3 separate regions of the Homo sapiens genome follow, and regions 1 and 2 are each linked to region 3. Evidence: promoter capture Hi-C in human tissues and cell types (Jung and others, 2019). All regions are on one chromosome and are shown on one strand. Each heading gives the region's core, a stretch centred on a gene start or on the middle of the fragment in contact. The rest is flanking DNA. Distances are from core to core; before and after follow the strand shown. Region 1 has its middle 34 kb from the start of MGST1. Region 2 has its middle 33 kb from the start of SLC15A5. Region 3 holds the start of MGST1 (microsomal glutathione S-transferase 1).

Evidence for each region. The method cuts DNA at HindIII sites, captures the fragments that hold promoters and counts their contacts. A contact is called where the count stands out against the background at its distance.
Region 1: a contact is called between a fragment that was not itself captured here and the fragment with the promoter of MGST1 in region 3, in 1 of the 25 tissues and cell types used here (dorsolateral prefrontal cortex).
Region 2: a fragment that was not itself captured here is called in contact with the fragment with the promoter of MGST1 in region 3 in 1 of the 25 tissues and cell types used here (hippocampus).

Annotation. Positions count from the first base shown.
Region 1 is chr12:16,380,247-16,383,608 of GRCh38, reverse strand. It overlaps a transcript of MGST1 not described here. Among named protein-coding and RNA genes, the nearest start is that of MGST1, 34 kb to the right of the region's middle. RefSeq lists enhancers at 65-657, 658-1,251. The HindIII fragment of the contact is 5,333 bases long and covers 1-3,362 here.
Region 2 is chr12:16,308,699-16,312,105 of GRCh38, reverse strand. No RefSeq gene overlaps it. Among named protein-coding and RNA genes, the nearest start is that of SLC15A5, 33 kb to the right of the region's middle. The HindIII fragment of the contact is 6,943 bases long and covers 1-3,407 here.
Region 3 is chr12:16,345,415-16,348,909 of GRCh38, reverse strand. It overlaps MGST1 (microsomal glutathione S-transferase 1), which reads right to left and starts at 1,265. Exons shown (of 4, transcript NM_020300.5): 1 at 1,200-1,265. RefSeq lists enhancers at 1-315, 1,246-2,175. The HindIII fragment of the contact is 4,760 bases long and covers 1-2,613 here.

The DNA.
Region 1 (3,362 bases), core at 728-3,227, 34 kb before region 3:
ATACCTGTAATCCCAGCTACTCAAGAGGCTGAGGCAGGAGAATCACTTGAATCCGGGAGGCAGAGGTTGCGGTGAGCTGAGATCATGCCATTGCACTCCATCCTGGACAACAAGAACAAAACTCCGTCTCAAAAATAAAAAGAAAAAAGAAAAGAAAAGAAAAAGAAAAAGACTTGGAAAAAAATATATAAATTTTTACCATGTATAAAAATGTAATCACATGGACCAACTGAAAACAACTCAGAAAAACAAAACTCAGACTTACATATAAAACCTTCCTCTGTGGAGTGCAAAATATTTTAAAAGTATTAGCTCAGAGAGAAGCCAAGATGGCCGAATAGGAACAGCTCCGGTCTACAGCTCCCAGCGTGAGTGAGGCAGAAAACGGGTGATTTCTGCATTTCCAACTGAGGTACCAGGTTCATCTCGCTGGGGAGTGCCAGACAGTAGGCGCAGGTCAGTGGGTGCAGTGCACCGTGCACGAGCCAAAGCAAGGCGAGGCATCGCCTCACCCAGGAAGTGCAAGGGGTCAGGGAATTCCCTTTCCTAGTCAAAGAAAGGGGTGAGAGACGGCACCTGGAAAATCAGGTCTCTCCCACTCTAATACTGTGCTTTTCCAATGGGCTTAAAACAAGGCACACCAGGAGATTATATCTCGCACCTGGCTCGGAGGGTCCCATGCCCACGGAGTCTCGCTCATTGCTAGCACAGCAGTCCGAGATCAAACTGCAAGGCAGCAGCGAGGCTGGGGGAGGGGCGCCCACCATTGCTGAGTTAGTTGTTTGATTAGGTAAACAAAGCGGCTGGGAAGCTGGAACTGGGTGGAGCCCACCACAGCTCAAGGAGGCCTGCCTGCCTCTGTAGGCTCCACTTCTGCGGGCAGGGCACAGACAAACAAAAAGACCGCAGTAACCTCTGCAGACTTAAAAGTCCCTGTCTGACAGCTTTGAAGAGAGTAGTGGTTCTCCCAGCACACAGCTTGAGATCTGAGAACGGGCAGACTGCCTCCTCAAGTGGGTCCCTGATCCCCGAATAGCCTAACTGGGAGGCACCCCCCCAGTAGGGGCGGACTGACACCTCACACGGCCGGGTACTCCTCTGAGACAAAACCTCCAGAGGAACGATCAGGCAGCAGCATTTGCGGTTCACCAATACACACTGTTCTACAGCCACTGCTGCTGATACCCAGGCAAACAGGGTCTGGAGTGGACCTCCAGCAAACTCCAACAGACCTGCAGCTGAGGGTCCTGTCTGTTAGAAGGAAAACTAACAAACAGAAAGGACATCCATACCAAAAACCCATCTGTATGTCACCATCATCAAAGACCAAAGGTAGATAAAACCACAAAGATGGGAAAAAAACAGAGCAGAAAAACTAGAAACTCTAAAAATCAGAGCGCCTCTCCTCCTCAAAAGGAATGCAGCTCCTCACCAGCAACGGAACAAAGCGGGACAGAGAATGACTTTGATGAGTTGAGAGAAGAAGGCTTCAGATGATCAAACTACTCCGAGCTACAGGAGGAAATTCGAACCAATGGCAAAGAAGTTAAAAGCTTTGAAAAAAAAATTAGATGAATGGATAACTAGAATAACCAATGCAGAGAAGTACTTAAAGGACCTGATGGAGCTGAAAACCAAGGCACGAGAGCTATGTGAAGAATGCAGAAGCCTCAGTAGCTGATGCGATCAACTGGAAGAAAGGGTATCAGTGATGGAAGATGAAATGAATGAAACGAAGCGAGAAGAGAAGTTTAGAGAAAAAAGAATAAAAAGAAATGAACAAAGCCTCCAAGAAATATGGGACTATGTGAAAAGACCAAATCTACATCTGATTGGTGTACCTGAAAGTGATGGGGAGAATGGAACCAAGGTGGAAAACACTCTGCAGGATATTATCCAGGAGAACTTCCCCAATCTAGCAAGGCAGGCCAACATTCAAATTCAGGAAATACAGAGAATGCCACAAAGATACTCCTCGAGAGCAACCCCAAGACACATAATTGTGAGATTCACCAAAGTTGAAATGAAGGAAAAAATGTTAAGAGCAGCCAGAGAGAAAGGTCGGGTTACCCACAAAGGGAAGCCCATCAGACTAATAGCTGATCTCTCGGCAGAAACTCTACAAGCCAGAAGAGAGTGGGGACCAATATTCAACATTCTTAAAGAAAAGAATTTTCAACCCAGAATTTCATATCCAGCCAAACTAAGCTTCATAAGTGAAAGAGAAATAAAATACTTTACAGACAAGCAAATGCTGAGAGATTTTGTCACCACCAGGCCTGCCCTGAAAGAGCTCCTGAAGGAAGCACTAAATATGGAAAGGAAGAACCGGTACCAGCCACTGCAAAAACATGCCAAATTGTAAAGACTGTCAATGCTAGGAAGAAACTGCATCAACTAACGAGCAAAATAACCAGCTAACATCATAATGACAGGAAAAAATTCACACATAACAATATTAACTTTAAATGTAAATGGGCTAAATGCTCCAATTAAAAGACACAGACCGGCAAATTGGATAAAGAGTCAAGACACATCAGTGTGCTGTATTCAGGTGCATCTCACATGCAGAGACACACATAGGCTCAAAATAAAGGGATGGAGGAAGAGCTACCAAGCGAATGGAAAAGAAAAAAGGCAGGGATTGCAATCCTAGTCTCAGATAAAACAGACTTTAAACCAACAAAGATCAAAAGAGACAAAGAAGGCCACTACATAATGGTAAAGGGATCAATTCAACAAGAAGAGCTAACTATCCTAAATATATATGCACCCAATACAGGAGCACCCAGATTCATAAAGCAAGTCATCAGTGACCTACAAAGAGACTTAGACTCCCACACAATAATAATGGGAGACTTTAACACCCTACTGTCAACATTAGACAGATCAACAAGACAGAAAGTTAACAAGGATACCCAGGAATTGAACTCAGCTCTGCACCAAGCAGACCTAATAGACATCTACAGAACTCTCCACCCCAAATCAACAGAATATACATTCTTTTCAGCACCATACCACACCTACTCCAAAATCGACCACATAGTTGGAAGTAAAGCACCCCTCAGCAAATGTAAAAGAACAGAAATTATAACAAACTGTCTCTCAGACCCCAGTGCAATCAAACTAGAACTCAGGATTAAAAAAACTCACTCAAAACCGCTCAACCACATGGAAACTGAACAACCTGCTCCTGAATGACTACTGGGTAAATAATGAAATGAAGGCAGAAATAAAGATGTTCTTTGAAACCAATGAGAACAAACACACAACATACCAGAATCTCTGGCACACATTCAAAGCAGTGTGTAGAGGGAAATTTATAGCACTAAATGCCCACAAGAGAAAGCAGGAAAGACCTA
Region 2 (3,407 bases), core at 45-2,544, 37 kb after region 3:
CTCTCTCTCTGTCTCTCTCTCTCTCTGAACAGAGAGCATGGGAAAAAGAGGAAAGGAGAAAGAGAGATTCTTCAATCAGCCCTCCAGTGGATCACAACTCAGTATCTCTCCTGCATTTCTGCTTTGGATCTTCAAGTATCTCACTATCAACTCCATCAAACACTCAATTTTGTTTATTTTAACTGTAATCGATAGTCTTACATTGTATTAGTTGCTATGAGTATGAGGAGAGGAAAGATCAAAAGTTGATTACAATAAGAATCTCATAATCAGAGGTTAAAAAACATAGATATATGTAAATAATAATAATGTAACACAGAATACACCATAGAGAGAAACCAATTACAATGTATATTCAGCTGAGAAAGAAATCGCATATTGTGGGTGGGAGTCAAGGGGGACCTGGAGGAACTTCATGAAAGAACAGTATTAGAAAAAGGTTTTTAGCAATTAGGAATTTTTTAAAAAGACACAGAGACAATAAAGAAGTCAAACATGATTAAAGTTGAGCATATTTGTGGAGGAGTAAAGAGAGACAAATTTATGTGGTTGAAATATATAAAAATGCTGTTCTTGTAGGTCAAAATTGTATGTTGGGGCTAAATTGTAGATGATCTTGAATGTCAGAAAAAGTCGGGACTTATGCTCTTAAACAACTGTGAGACTTTTGAGAGGACAGCATGTATGTGCCATATTTTAAAGAAGATTCACTTGCTAATTATGAGCTTGGACTGAAAATAAGAAGTGCAATTGGGAAGCTCTTGCAATACTGGGTACCAACTAAGTCCCCAAACCTCTACTAGACTTCATGCCATTGAATGAATATCTCTTTCCTCCATTTACTTCCTGTCCCTTGTACATTTCTATTTATTCAACATCCTTCACCAATTCCTTTGACCTCACTTGCTATCCCTGCCTAATCATCAGGATTCCTATCTCTGCACCTGGATGGGCAAAGCCTAGCTCAACAGGGTCATGGGGTCAGTCAGGCTAAACTTGCAGTAACAGCTATCATGACCTTTATTCCATTTACCATAATATTTGTTTGTATGTCTTGCTCTCTCTCTTTCTTCCTTTGACCACGCTTTTCTGAAGGGCATGTTTAATGCCTCATCTATGTGCTGGGGCCTAGCAGGGCACCTGGCACCTACTAGGTGCTCAATAAATATTAATTCAGTAAAATTCCCACCATAGCAACTCAGAAAAAAAAAAGTGGTTACTTTATTAAAATCTTCTCTGATCTCCTGCTTAACTTCCTGATAGCATGTAGTTAGTGAGCCTGTGGCCTGAGTTTTCTGGGATAGCCCCAGTCTAAGACAGTTTATAATTACCTAAAATAATCTCTATTATGTTGTTTCAAAGAGCCACAAGTAGCACATCTTTTTAATTTTCCTTAGGGCTTGTTATGCACAGTTCATTCTGGACACATAATAAGTGCTCAACAGATAAGTTTATTGATTCAGTAGATAAACATTTCAGAAATTTTAATGACTAATCAACTAAATAAGCACAGGTAAATCACATTTTTCAAATCATGTGTCCAAATTTGGTGGCAAAAACAACTCCTATATTTATAGTTCATGCTAGATAAATGAGTACTTGAGTATATCCTGTTATGCTTCTACTATATTTGAATGTAACCAGTTCTTAAGACCAGTGTAAGTCCTATTTCCAAACCTCTCAACAAATCAGACTCCAAAAACTTCATAAAGAGATATTTTTACTGAGGGTTTCCTGGAAAGACAAGAAAGTTGTTTACCTCACATATTACCAAGTAGGAATTCATTTAAAATTCACTAAATATTTCTCTTTGACTCTGTAGGAGTACTCTAAGATCCACTCCTTAGAGCAACTTCTCTCTCTCTTTTCTGCTCCATGCTCTGCCTTCTCATGCAAAGTTCATCACCATTTTGGCTTTTCTCACTCCATTCTCTGGCCACTTCTAGCCTCCTTGTGAGAAATGGGAAAGTTCTTCTTCAAAGATTACAAAAAGTCACAATTTCTTACTATAACATTGCTATCCACTATTAGTATATATATATATATATATATATATATATATTCCAAATCAGCTGTCCTAGCTTGCTCCAGCATGCCTGGGCAGAACTAGACAAGCCACAGCCCATAGTGCATGCCATTCTTTATTTGCAGATGCTTCCTTAACTATCCCTGGGCAACTTCCTTTTCTTTCTTTGTTCTGTTCCCCTTACCCAATTAAAAAAGTTTTAAACTAATAGCCAATCGGGTAATGTGTAAAATGTGAGGTCCTATTCCAGCCAATGGAAATTGGACAAAACAGTAGGGCAGACGCGTCAGATTATAAATAACTCTGTCTCCTTTGTTTGGTGTGCTCTCATGGCTGGACAGCTATTGAGTAGCACCCTTTCTGCAGAAAGTAAAGCTCGCCTTGCTGAGATCATTTGTTCCCGTGTTAATTTTTTTTTTTTTTGCGACACCAAAAACTTCATTCTCAGCATCCTACTCTTCCATTGGAAACTTACGAACAGCTTTCCCTGTTCTTAAGTAACTTGGCCACTCTCAGTTTATCCAGTATCCCTCTCCAAAACTATTAATAGCTGAAAAGCAAAGGACACTTCCTCCTGAGGTCGGTGGGAGTAAATATAGGAATTTCAAATAAATATTTAATATTTTCCCTGTATTGTCGCCTACCAACAGATTTAATGCTTCTTTTGCATTTTCCTTCAAGCTGCTCATGCACAATCCTGGCCACATATGGGTGCTCAATAAATATGTGTTTACTGACTTCTTAGGAAAATGTTTCAGAAATTTTCATCACTGGTCACCCAGAGTATTTAACAATATTAATCTAACACATAACTCCTGGACCCCTACTATGTGTGACAATGTACTAAGGGAGCTTTGGATGGAATGAGGGTGTGGCCAGAATCCAAAAGAAGTTCTGTCAAATCAGCCTGTGCATGCCACCAACCAAATAAAACTTGAAAATTGATCTGATGAGGTGATCCAAATGTCTCTTCAGACTCATAATTTTCTAAGGCTCATTATACAATTTCACATTAGCGTTTTCAGCTCTTTCGATCACAAAGTAATAGACCAAAAACAAACTAAGAATATAAGCAATATCTAGATCATGGTAGGAAGACTCATCCCCCTCTCAGCTAATTGACTGAACCAGAAAGCCTAATTAGTGCTACAATCACTTCCTACTGGAAAGCATTCACTGTACATTAGAAAAACCTAATGTTAACTAACACTGTACATTAAACCTAGATCATGTTCACTTGCAAGGAAATCATTTTTTTAATAGAAAGGATTCAGTTTTAATGTTCTGTAATGGGCCATTTATTAGTATACAAGAAGGTCAGAAGAACTAATTGGAGACTATTTGAGCAAGTGTAAGTAATATGGTTTTCCCAGGTTGCCAA
Region 3 (3,495 bases), core at 16-2,515:
ATTCATAGACACCACTCTAAAACAAAGCGGTAGAAAAATTTTACTCGTCTGCCAGAGAGGGTAATATCCAAATTTGGACTGATTTGCCTTTTTTTTTTTTTTTTTTTTAATTACCAAAGATAATCGCACACATAGCCCTCTTATTTTGGAAACAGCAGAGGACAACAAAGTCCAGTACTATCCTAAGGCCAAGAAAAGCATATGCAAAAGGTAGGTGTAGGCTGGGACTCACAGCAGGCTGGGACCCCAGGAAAACTGGGCTTTAAGGATTGCTCACTGGAGGCCTGGGTGCTATACAGCAATGCTTGCGGGCACCCACTCAGCACTCACTGGGTAAGAAATTAGGGAGAAGAAATAGGGGAATATAAACGTGGAGCTCAGACTGCCACATTTCAAGAGAAGCAGAGAGACTAGAAGATTTACATGCACTCCTCTCTCCTCTGTCCCAAGCCAGCTAGAGCAATATATGACACCTTAATTCCCGAAAAAGAGAGTTCCCTTCTCCTTTTCTCCTTCCACATGGCTTCCTCCTCCAGACTGGGGAAGTGGGGCACAGGTGAGAACCGTCCCAAGGGGCTCACCCTTAGCTCTCTTGTCACTGGCTATAATATCACACAAAAATATTATCATCTAACCCACATCCTCTTGTTTCGATAGCTAGCATTATTAGCAGTAGTATTATTTAGTATTATTTTAAAACTTGCTGATGTTTCTCCTATCAAAGTGAACTCAGAAGAGCAAATCCTGCCTTACAATAGGCATAAAGGCCACTATGCCCATGAAACCTGAGACATCGCAGGCTTTTGCACTCTTGGGGAGAACAGCAGTCGTTCAAACTACAGGCATTTCCTCCATTACTACACGTGCCTTTTCCTCCTTCCCCAGAGTTCAAGGGACCCTTTCAAACAGGAGGTTACTTTGACTTGAAAAGGCTAAGTTTGGAAATCATCACTCAAGCATGAAAAGACTCTCTCGTTTCATTCCTGGAGTTTGAGAAATGGGAAAACTTACCCGCACGGGGACAGAAATACAATTCCCTTTCAAAAGCGATCGATTGAAAAGCTAAGTTTAGCTGCTAAGTGGAGCCAAGCACTTCCAGCTGGCAGAGACCCCCCCAAGTCTTCCATCTGCCACCCACCCTGGCCCTCCCTGCCTGCCACCCTTTGCATGCGGTCCCCTTCTCCCCTCCCAGTACGCACGGTGAGGCCGAGGAGGAGGAAGCAGCAAGCCTGTCCCGCCGCCGGGTCGCGCGCAATGCAGGGACTGTGGCCGCGCGGGCCGGACGCAGGCACCGCCCCTCTCCAGTTAATCTCCTGTTAATTAGCCCTCCCACGTTTAAAGCCCGACCCCAACCTCGCCAAACCCCTCCTCTAAATCACCTGATTTACCCGCCCACAGTAACCATCGCCTGCTGATTCCCTTTGAGCCCTTCTATTTGGCGCCCTTAGAAACTCTGGTTCCTGAAATGCCAACTCCCCTAATCAGTGGGAAGGGGGACAGTAGCCATTGTCTAGGAACTCTGAATTCTCGAACATTTCAGGATCAGCAGAGTTTTGGAAGTTGTTTTTAAAAACTTCGCAGAAAGTTAAAATCTCCAGGGTAGAACTAATTAGCAGGCATTGACAATATTACCTTCCCTTAGACTTCACCTCCCCTGCGCTGGTGGCAAGGCCTCCTTAAAAGGCTGACAATGACAGAATGTAACCCTCAGTAAAGATCACTTACGGTGTTCCAAATTCATGATACCAGACAATTTGCTTTGTCACGATGTCCCCTCCTGTTCAGGGTCCAGAATGAAATTGGAGGCAATTGTACTGGATCAGCTCATTACACAATCAGCTTAGTGTGTTTTTTACAGGGAGGTTTAGAGGAACGTTTACGGAAGCCGTAGATATTTAGCCTACCATCACTATCTAGATTAGGGATACTTCCAAGCTTCCTAGTCCCCATAGTCCCCACAATATTTATGGATCTATCTTTCATGGGTTTATATGAGAAATGTTTAAGGATTTCTGTTTTCAATCTATATTATTTCTCTCCTAGTGCTATATCTCAGACACTCACCACCTGTTGCAAGGTCTACTTCCTTTTTTTGCTCTTAATTTACTCCTTTAGGCTTTAAAGGATATCCCTAGGACTAACTTTCTAGGATGTGATGGACAAGTTCATGTTCTATTAAAGAAAGAAATAACTACCAGTTTGCTCTAGGAACAGAAATTAATCCAAGGAAGGTCTGAGAATGATTTCTATATAAGCATAACAGTAGGAGTTTTGGAAAATCTAGCATCAGAAGGCATCTGTTCTTCACTTTTATGTCTGTATCTTTTCAAAACTCTACTTATTCACCTATCTTTGTAAAGTATACTAGAATCTGTCTGTAACATTAACTGGAATAGGATAGAATTTGAGATGACATAAATCTATTCTGAATTCTCTCCAAAGGAGTTTGGTATTATAAGAATTTAAGACTCTCTTCATTTATTATAAGGTGATACAGGCCAAATCTTATGGATAACATGGCAGAAAAAGGAAGAGGAGAGCTACTGTTTAGATAATTTGGTCTACAGAATGCTAGTTGAATGGTTCTAACATTTTTTTTTTTTTTTTTTTGAGACGGAGTCTGCCTGTGTAGCCCAGGCTGGAGTGCAGTGGCGCGATCTCAGCTCACTGCAAGCTCCGCCTCCCGAGTTCACACCGTTATCCTGCCTCAGCATCCCAAGTAGCTGGGATCACAGGCACCTGCCATCACGCCTGGCTAATTTTTTGTATTTTTAGTAGAGACGGGGTTTCTCTGTGTTAGCCAGGATGGTCTTGATCTCCTGACCTCGTGATCCACCTGCCTCAGCCTCCCAAAGTGTTGGGATTACAGGCGTGAGCCACTGCGTCCAGCTGGTTCTAACATTTTTTTAAAAAAGAAAGTAGCACTTGACTCATCTAATGCTCTAAATATAGAATGTGTTCAAACTATTAATTGATCAATGAATAAATACTGAGTTCCTACTATCACTAAATCACGAACAATTATTGCCTGTTACATACATATATATATGTGTGTGTGTGTTTGTGTGTATCAGGCAATATTATATATATACATACGGATATATATATGACACTGTATTGGGTAGAATATTAGCAGTTGGTTTAATTGAATAAACATTTATTAAATGAATGCAATGTACTTGGTTTGATGCTAAAATCTAAAACTAAGATAAATAACGTCAAAGAGCTGTCCTCCAGGATTTTACAATCTAGTAAACACAAAGGCCAAAAAGGTAAAAAGTTGCCATTAAGCTTGTGGAAGGAAAGTTTCCATTTAGAAATAAGAATGACAGTTGGGGTGTGAACTAGGGCGGTAACAGGTAAAAGTTGTAAAATAATTGACACTTTATATTCATCTTTGTTATAAGCTCTTAAATGATTGAGAAAGAGAGAGAGTTGTTATTCAGCTTAGTTTCGTCTGGGTAAAAGAATGGATTCAGCTTTTCAACCCTTCCT